Linked DNA regions of Homo sapiens: regions 1 and 3 are each linked to region 2. The links are contacts of gene promoters, found by promoter capture Hi-C in blood cells and fetal thymus (Javierre and others, 2016). All regions are on one chromosome and are shown on one strand. The core of a region is centred on a gene start or on the middle of the fragment in contact, and the rest is flanking DNA. Distances in the headings are between cores, read along the strand shown.

Evidence for each region. The method cuts DNA at HindIII sites, captures the fragments that hold promoters and counts their contacts. A CHiCAGO score of 5 or more calls a contact.
Region 1: a contact is called between a fragment that was not itself captured here and the fragment with the promoter of EP300 in region 2, in 16 of 17 cell types (megakaryocytes, M2 macrophages, naive B cells and 13 more). The highest score is 15.4, in megakaryocytes.
Region 3: a fragment that was not itself captured here is called in contact with the fragment with the promoter of EP300 in region 2 in 4 of 17 cell types (endothelial precursors, M2 macrophages, erythroblasts and 1 more); the score reaches 6.1 in endothelial precursors.

Annotation. Positions count from the first base shown.
Region 1 is chr22:40,914,686-40,917,385 of GRCh38, forward strand. All of the region lies in intron 7 of XPNPEP3 (X-prolyl aminopeptidase 3), which reads left to right. LOC124905157 (small nucleolar RNA U13) reads left to right here and starts at 194; the gene lies at 194-297. The HindIII fragment of the contact is 2,530 bases long and covers 111-2,640 here.
Region 2 is chr22:41,091,251-41,093,950 of GRCh38, forward strand. EP300 (EP300 lysine acetyltransferase) reads left to right here and starts at 1,342. Exons shown (of 31, transcript NM_001429.4): 1 at 1,342-1,848. The coding sequence starts at 1,755. MIR1281 (microRNA 1281) reads left to right here and starts at 1,263; the gene lies at 1,263-1,316. RefSeq lists silencers at 243-532, 633-1,402, 1,583-1,682 and an enhancer at 1,793-2,032. The HindIII fragment of the contact is 3,482 bases long and covers 1-2,700 here.
Region 3 is chr22:40,868,321-40,871,020 of GRCh38, forward strand. It overlaps XPNPEP3 (X-prolyl aminopeptidase 3), which reads left to right. Exons shown (of 10, transcript NM_022098.4): 2 at 679-795. Among named protein-coding and RNA genes, the nearest start is that of DNAJB7, 7.6 kb to the left of the region's middle. The HindIII fragment of the contact is 820 bases long and covers 1,003-1,822 here.

The sequences.
Region 1 (2,700 bases), core at 126-2,625, 180 kb before region 2:
AAGTAGCTGGGACTATAGGCACATTGCCACCATGCCTGACTCACAGACATTTTTTAAAAAATAAAGTTGATTTTTTAAAATACAGAAGTAATATTCAGGTTATGGTAGAAAGCTTGATTGGATTAATCCTCCATAGATAATAATTATAAAATCTGGACAAAATATTAAAAATAACTATTTAAAGGCACTAGAGATCCCTTTGTAGCTCATGAGTGTGATGATTGGGTGTTCACGTGCAGGTATGAGATGTGCTACCCTCAAACCTTCTTACAAGGTCAGCACATTACCCATCTGACATGAAAAAAATCAAAATAAAAGGCACCAGAGAGCTTTCAAAAATAGGCAGAAATTGTACAAGTCCATTCTTTTTTTTTTTTTTTTTTTGAGACGGAGTCTCGCTCTGGCACCCAGGCTGGAGTGCAGTGGCATGATCTCGGCTCACTGCTAGCTCCACCTCCCAGGTTCACATCATTCTCCTGCTTCAGCCTCCCGAGTAGCGGGACTACAGGCACCCACCACCACGCCTGGCTAATTTTTTGTATTTTTCGTAGAGATGGGATTTCACCGTGTTAGCCAAGTACAAGTCCATTCTTAAAAAACTATAATGGGCCAGGCCTGGTGGCTCATACCTGTAATCCCAGGACTTTGGGAGCCCAAGGCAGGCAGAGCACCTGAGGTCAGGAGTTCAGGACCAGCCTGACCAAAATGGTGAAACCCTGTCTCTACTAAAAATACAAAAATTAGCCTGGGAATGGTACTCGGGAGGCTAAGGCAGGAGAATCGCTTGAACCCAGGGGACGGAAGTTGCAGTGAGCTAAGATTGGACTCTGCACTCCAGCCTGGGTGACAGAGTGAGACTCTATCTGAAAAAAAAAAAAAAGAAAAACTATAATGGATAAAAATGGTGATAAGGGCTTTTTGCCTGAGGACATTGCCCAATGCACATAGCTTGGGCGGCAGAAAGCCACAGCCTTATTGATTTAAGATATCAAATGATAGATTTAGGTGCTGACAGAATAGCCAGAAAGATGAAGGAAAATCCTTGACGAGAAGGGCTTGTGGAAACTCTGAGCCCCAAAATCTGCATACAGAATATTTAAAAATCCTTGGCTGATTACTGAACTATGTGTTCTGAGGAGGCCTCATGAGGCTCAGCAAAATACGAGCAGCTAGAAGCAGAATAAACTGAGCAGAGATTTTAGTTGCTTCCCAGTGAGAACAGAGTTTGTAGTTTGAAGCTATCCAAGTTAACAAAATTTCTAGACATGAGAAGAAACTGGTAATTGTGACCTGTAATCAAGAAAATCTGATAATGAAATAATCCTGGCCAGGTGCAGTGGCTCATGCCTGTAATTCTAGCACTTTGGGGGGCCGAGGTGGGCAGATTACTTGAAGTCAGGAGTTCAAGACCAGCCTGGCCAAAATGTGAAACCCTGTCTCTACTAAAAATACAAAAATTAGCTGAGTGTGGTGGCGGGCACCTGTAATCCCAGCTACTCGGGAGGCTGAGGCAGGAATATCGCTTGAACCGGGAAAGGGGAGGTTGCAGTGAGCCGAGATTGTACCACTGCACTCCAGCTTGGGCGACAGAGTGAGACTCCATCTCAAACAAAGGAAAAAAAAAAAGAAAGAAATGATCCTAATGTTCCAATTAGCAGAAAGACTCTAAAGTAGCTGTTATAGATAAGTTAAAGGAAGATGTAGACATAATGAGCAAACAGATGGAGAATCTCAATGAGAAATAGAAACAAAAAAGAACCAGAGATTGTGGGAAGATGGCAGCAGCAGGATAGTTTTTCAAACTTTCCAAATTGTCAAATAAACATAGAGCAACTAGCTAACAAAACCAAACACTAGGTAGTATTTGTTACCTCAAAATAATTACCTCCTAATTCACAAACATTCAGTCTGTAACTGCCCAAAATCTAGACTGATAAACTCTGTATGTCAAGCAGCCTGGATTCTTTAACAAATAAATTACAAGGAAATGAAAAGAGGTGGAGGAGGAGCCTACTAACTAAAAGAGATTTTAGTTATATCAAATATATTACAAATGAACACAAAGAAAATTATCTTGGGGTGAATATTTGGGTGATAAAAATATCTTTAAAACACAAAGGACAGCCAGGCGAGGTGCCTCATGTAATCCCAGCACACTGGGAGGAAAGACAGGAGGATCACTTGAGCTCAGGAGTTCAAGACCAACATGGGCAGCATAGTGAAACCTGGTCTTTACAAAAAAATTAGCCAGGCGTGGTGGCACATGCCTGTAGTCCCAGCTACTCAAGAGGCTGAGGTGGGAGAATTGCTTGAGCCCAGGAGACAGAGGTTGCAGTGAGCCAAGATTGCACCATTGCAATCCAGCCTGGGTGACAGAGCCAGACCCTGTCGCAAAAAAAAAGAAAAAGAAAAAAACCCCACAATGACCAAGCATAGTGGCATGCACCTATAGTCTCAGCTACTCAGGAGGCTGAGGCAGGAGGATCACTTGAGTCCAAGAGTTCTAAGCTGCAGTCCACTATGTTGATCAGGTGTCTGCAACCAGTTAGAGGTTTTTGCACATTACCTAAGGAGGGCTGAACTGGCCCAGGTCAGAAACAGAGCAGGTCACAACTCTCATACTGATCAGTAATGGGAACAAGCTTGTGAATAGCCAGTACACACCAGCCTGGGCAACAGAGCAAGACCCCATCTGTAAAA
Region 2 (2,700 bases), core at 92-2,591:
GTGAATTCGACCGGGGTTTTGGGGGACCCGCCACCCAAGGGCCGAAGAGCAGGGCCGCCCTACGGGCGCTCCCATTTGGCCACCTGAGTGGCGACTTGGCGCCTTCCTCGGAGCAGCTCCGGGGTTCCGTCGTCCCGGTTCCCACTGGTCCCTTACGCAGAGACCAAAGGCAGGAACCTTCCCTCGTAACTATCCACCGACTGAAAATAGATTCTGAGTCCGCCCCCGCCCCTCCCCCCTTAAAATCCTCCCCACTCTTAAAATCCTCCCCTTTAAAGGGAGCCACAGGGTGACGCCGGGGGAGTTTGCGGAAGCGCTAACCGCGTTGGGGCCTAGGGCGGATCCCGTGATTGGGACAGGCCCCGCCCCCGGCTCCACTTCCCCCATTGTGTGAGCGGCTCGGGCCTAGGCCCCGCCCCCCTCCGGAGGCCCGGCCACTCCCCTTTTCCACCCCCCCTTGGCTCATTTCCGGCCGCCGCCGCTACCGCTAGCCTGTAAGGAGGATTCGGCAGAGGGAAGAAACAACAGCCGCCATCTTGTTTGTGTGCTAGGCTGGGGGGGAGAGAGGGCGAGAGAGAGCGGGCGAGAGTGGGCAAGCAGGACGCCGGGCTGAGTGCTAACTGCGGGAGCCAGAGAGTGCGGAGGGGAGTCGGGTCGGAGAGAGGCGGCAGGGGCCGAGACAGTGGCAGGGGGCCCGGGGCGCACGGGCTGAGGCGACCCCCAGCCCCCTCCCGTCCGCACACACCCCCACCGCGGTCCAGCAGCCGGGCCGGCGTCGACGCCTAGGGGGGACCATTACATAACCCCGCGCCCCGCGGCGTCTTCTCCCGCCGCCGCGGGCGGCCCCGAACGGAGCCCCGGGGGGCGGGCGCTCCCAGCACCTGGCCGCCGGCGGTGGGGGCCGTAGCAGCGGCCGTATTTATTTATTTTCCGCGGGAAAGGAAGGCGAAGGAGGGGAGCGCGGCGCGAGGAGGGGCCGCCTGCGCCGCCGCCGGAGCGGGGCCTCCTCGGTGGGCTCCGCGTCGGCGCGGGCGTGCGGGCGGCGCTGCTCGGCCCGGCCCCCTCGGCCCTCTGGTCCGGCCAGCTCCGCTCCCGGCGTCCTTGCCGCGCCTCCGCCGGCCGCCGCGCGATGTGAGGCGGCGGCGCCAGCCTGGCTCTCGGCTCGGGCGAGTTCTCTGCGGCCATTAGGGGCCGGTGCGGCGGCGGCGGCGCGGAGCGCGGCGGCAGGAGGAGGGTTCGGAGGGTGGGGGCGCAGGCCCGGGAGGGGGCACCGGGAGGAGGTGAGTGTCTCTTGTCGCCTCCTCCTCTCCCCCCTTTTCGCCCCCGCCTCCTTGTGGCGATGAGAAGGAGGAGGACAGCGCCGAGGAGGAAGAGGTTGATGGCGGCGGCGGAGCTCCGAGAGACCTCGGCTGGGCAGGGGCCGGCCGTGGCGGGCCGGGGACTGCGCCTCTAGAGCCGCGAGTTCTCGGGAATTCGCCGCAGCGGACGCGCTCGGCGAATTTGTGCTCTTGTGCCCTCCTCCGGGCTTGGGCCCAGGCCCGGCCCCTCGCACTTGCCCTTACCTTTTCTATCGAGTCCGCATCCCTCTCCAGCCACTGCGACCCGGCGAAGAGAAAAAGGAACTTCCCCCACCCCCTCGGGTGCCGTCGGAGCCCCCCAGCCCACCCCTGGGTGCGGCGCGGGGACCCCGGGCCGAAGAAGAGATTTCCTGAGGATTCTGGTTTTCCTCGCTTGTATCTCCGAAAGAATTAAAAATGGCCGAGAATGTGGTGGAACCGGGGCCGCCTTCAGCCAAGCGGCCTAAACTCTCATCTCCGGCCCTCTCGGCGTCCGCCAGCGATGGCACAGGTTAGTTTCGGCAGCCCCGGCCTTCCACGTTCCCTTTAATCTTTTCTACTCGGTGCGCCTTTATTCTTCCATTTTTTTTTTCTTCCTCTCTCTCTAGTTCCCTGCCCCTTAATTAATTTTAAAGGTATTTGAATGAGCTGGTCGAAGACGTCCAGTAGCCCAACCATTTTCTTTGCCTCCTAATACATTGATTGCAACACTATGTCATATCGGTGTGTGTTCTGGAATTAGAGCTCGTAAGTGGGTGCTATATAGAAATGGCCTGTATTGTTGCTCTCATGCAATTTAATTTGGGAAATGCCAATGCATTTGTGTGTAAGAGCTCCTATGCAATTTAAGTTTCATTTTTTTTGTTCTTGGCAAATGAATTTCGAATCCTTTCTCTTTACTGTACTTACTGTGTTTCCTCTACTTTCCACTCTTCGAAATTTTCTCTCCTTTGCAGAATATTTTCTGTTGAGGAATAGGGTGTAAAAAAATCTTGATTTTGTGTGTGCGAGGTCCAAGATTTCAGGTTAGAGGTGAAGTTTAACAATTCTTTTATCTTACCTACCATTCTTAGCTTTTTTTTCCTTTTTCTTCTTATTTGCTTTAAGAATCAATATGGAGCGCAGTTCATTTCACATCTCCCAGTTCTTTGGTGTGAGACCAAAATGTCTGAAACTCTGGGTTTTTAGGTTGGGAGAACAGGGGCATGTTCTTTGCAGTTTGCAGTCACTTTCTCATTTTAGGGGAAATAAGATAAACAATTTTGTGGAGTTACGTACCTGGAAATCAAGGTTAGAAGTTGAAAGAGTTCCAATCATGAACTACAAACGTGAACTGATTGTACAAAAGTTTAAAATGTGCATT
Region 3 (2,700 bases), core at 163-2,662, 220 kb before region 2:
CTGTGATACCCTTTCAAACTGCCTCTGTGATATCCTTCCCCTGCCTTTTTTGGTTCCTTTCTTCTGTTTTCATAGCTCCTTATTCATACCTTTATTATATATGTGTGCGTGTGTGTGTGTGTGTGTGTGTGTGTATGTGTATAAAATATTATAGCAGACAAATGTCTCTGAGGGTAAAGATCTCATTTCTGTTTTCCTAAGGCCCAACACAGAGTCTGACACAGAGCAAAGGCCATATAAATATTGAAGGAGGGCCAGGTGCAGTGGCTCATGCCTGTAATCCCAACACTTTGGGAGGCCGAGGTGGGCGGATCACTTGAGGTCAAGAGTTCGAGACCAGCCTGGCCAACAGGATTAAACCCCGTCTCTACAAAAATTAGCCAGACATGGTGGCACGCACCTGTAATCCCAGCTATGTAGGAGGCTTGAGGCAGGAGAATCACTTGAACCCAGGAGGTGGAGGTTGCAGTGAGCCGAGATCATGCCACTGACTCCAGCCTGGGTGACAGAGTGAGACTCTGTCTTAAAAAAAAAATAAATGAATATTGAAGGAGAGAAGGAAGGAAATATTAGTTTGCATTTTTCTAAAGCATCTAAACTGCTAGAGATAAGTGTATTTATACCATGAAGACTTTCTAGATCTATTGTTTCATTTCATTCTCTTTATTCTTCATTCAGGATGTATGTTGTGTTCACAGCGAAGGTACTCCCTTCAGCCTGTCCCAGAAAGGAGGATTCCAAACCGATACTTAGGCCAGCCCAGCCCCTTTACACACCCACACCTCCTCAGACCAGGTAAGGCCTTTTAACTGTGCTATCTCCCCATTTAGGTTCTGTCTAGAGCAATGCTATGCAATAGAACTTCTTGCAGTAAGCTCTGGATCTGTGCTGTTCCATAAGGTAGCCACTAACCTCACATGGCCATTTTACACTAATAAGGTTGCTAGTACAGCTGAGGAGCTGAACTTTTTATTTTATTTAATTTTAATTAATTTAAATTTAAGCTTAACTACATGTGGGTACTGGTGCTTTATTGACAATACTAGTCTAGAACAAGGTTTAAATATGATAGACCTTATAATTCAGAATAATTAATGAAAGGTATGTATTTCAGGATGTTTTTAAAGCAAAGTTCTATTTCTAAGTCAGCTTTTAGAATTGTATACTATTGTGAATTACTGTGTTAAAGACATTTTAGAAAACATGTTTTTTCTTGAAATTATCAAATATTTACTTTAAAATTATAACCTATTTCTATATAGATTAAGCAAGATTTCCAGATTTGTTTGTCACAGATTTGAGAGGTAGTATCCCAGTTGATAAAGGTGATGCAAAAAAATGATAAAGGTTTGTTTTACTAATTTTTTTTTCTGCTATAAGATCCCAGCGTTGCTGCCAGAAGATGTCTTATAACTATTGCTCAAATTTAGACCTAAAGGTTTTTTGTTTTGATTTCTTGCACTTAAGGGGTGAACTATGACTAATGAATATCTCAGAGAGGAAGGTAGGGTAAAAGCAAACACATTGTAGAAAAAGCAATCAGGTTTTCAAGGAAAATTAATTGTTCTTTCTGCCATAAGAAATTAAATATGTATTTGCCATATAAGCATATATATTACTAATGGAAATTTACCTTTAGAAATATGTTCCTTTTTCACTATCCCCACTCAGTGAATGATACCAGTATGTTTCTCAGTGAGGGCTTCCTTTTGCTGATTTTTCATCAGACTCGAATTCCTGCTGGGAAGTCGGCTGAAACTAAGGAAATGCAGCTCACCACTGAAACCCACAAGAAATCAGAGTTTTTCAAAGCTGTAAGGTAAGCTTAATAGCAACCCAGTTGGTATTAATTTTAGTATTTATCTACCCTATCAACCTACCTGTAGACTCGAGTTATTTTTTTAAGTAGAATTGATAGTTTTACCAGCTTTGAAAATTACTGATTTCTTGTGGTGAGATATTTTTACATGGTAAGCTGCATTTTCCAGGCCTTAAACCTAGTAATTATATTGTCAAGATAATGGCCTCTGTATCTAGATTTTTTTGCTCTATACCTTAAGTGCATGTTAAGTATAAGTGAATGTAAATAAATATGTACACGTATATGTTCACATACATATGTATGTGAATATCTGGGGGAAAAGGGATGCCTGTCCTAATTTTACTCTCCTAGACGTGGGATTTTGGACATTGGGGTAAGTGAGAAGGGATGGAAGTAGATGGAATTTTAAAACAGAATTATTAGTATTTTAAACCTCAAACTATCAGATGTACCATTAGGTACAGATTTTTCTGCAGACAAAAGTATCAAAAGAATTAATCATTTGTGTTTCTCCTTCCAGAGATGCAAAACTTGTGGAAGTGTTAAAGTGATTGTAGGGTGAAGCAGAGTAAATTTTTAAGAAAAATTAAAAGGGGCCGGGCGCAGTGGCTCATACATGTAATCCCAGAACTTTGGGAGGCCAAGGTGGGTGGATCACCTGAGGCCAGGAGTTTGAGACCAGCCTAACCAATATGGTGAAATCCTGTCTCTACTAAAAATACCCCCCAAAAAAAAAATTAGCCGGGTGTGGTGGCATATGCCTATAATCTCAGCTACTGGGGAGGCTGAGGCAGGAGAATCACCTGAATCTGGGAGGCGGAGGTTGCAGTGAGCCAGAATTGTGCCACTGCACTCCAGCTTGGGGGACAGAGGGAGAC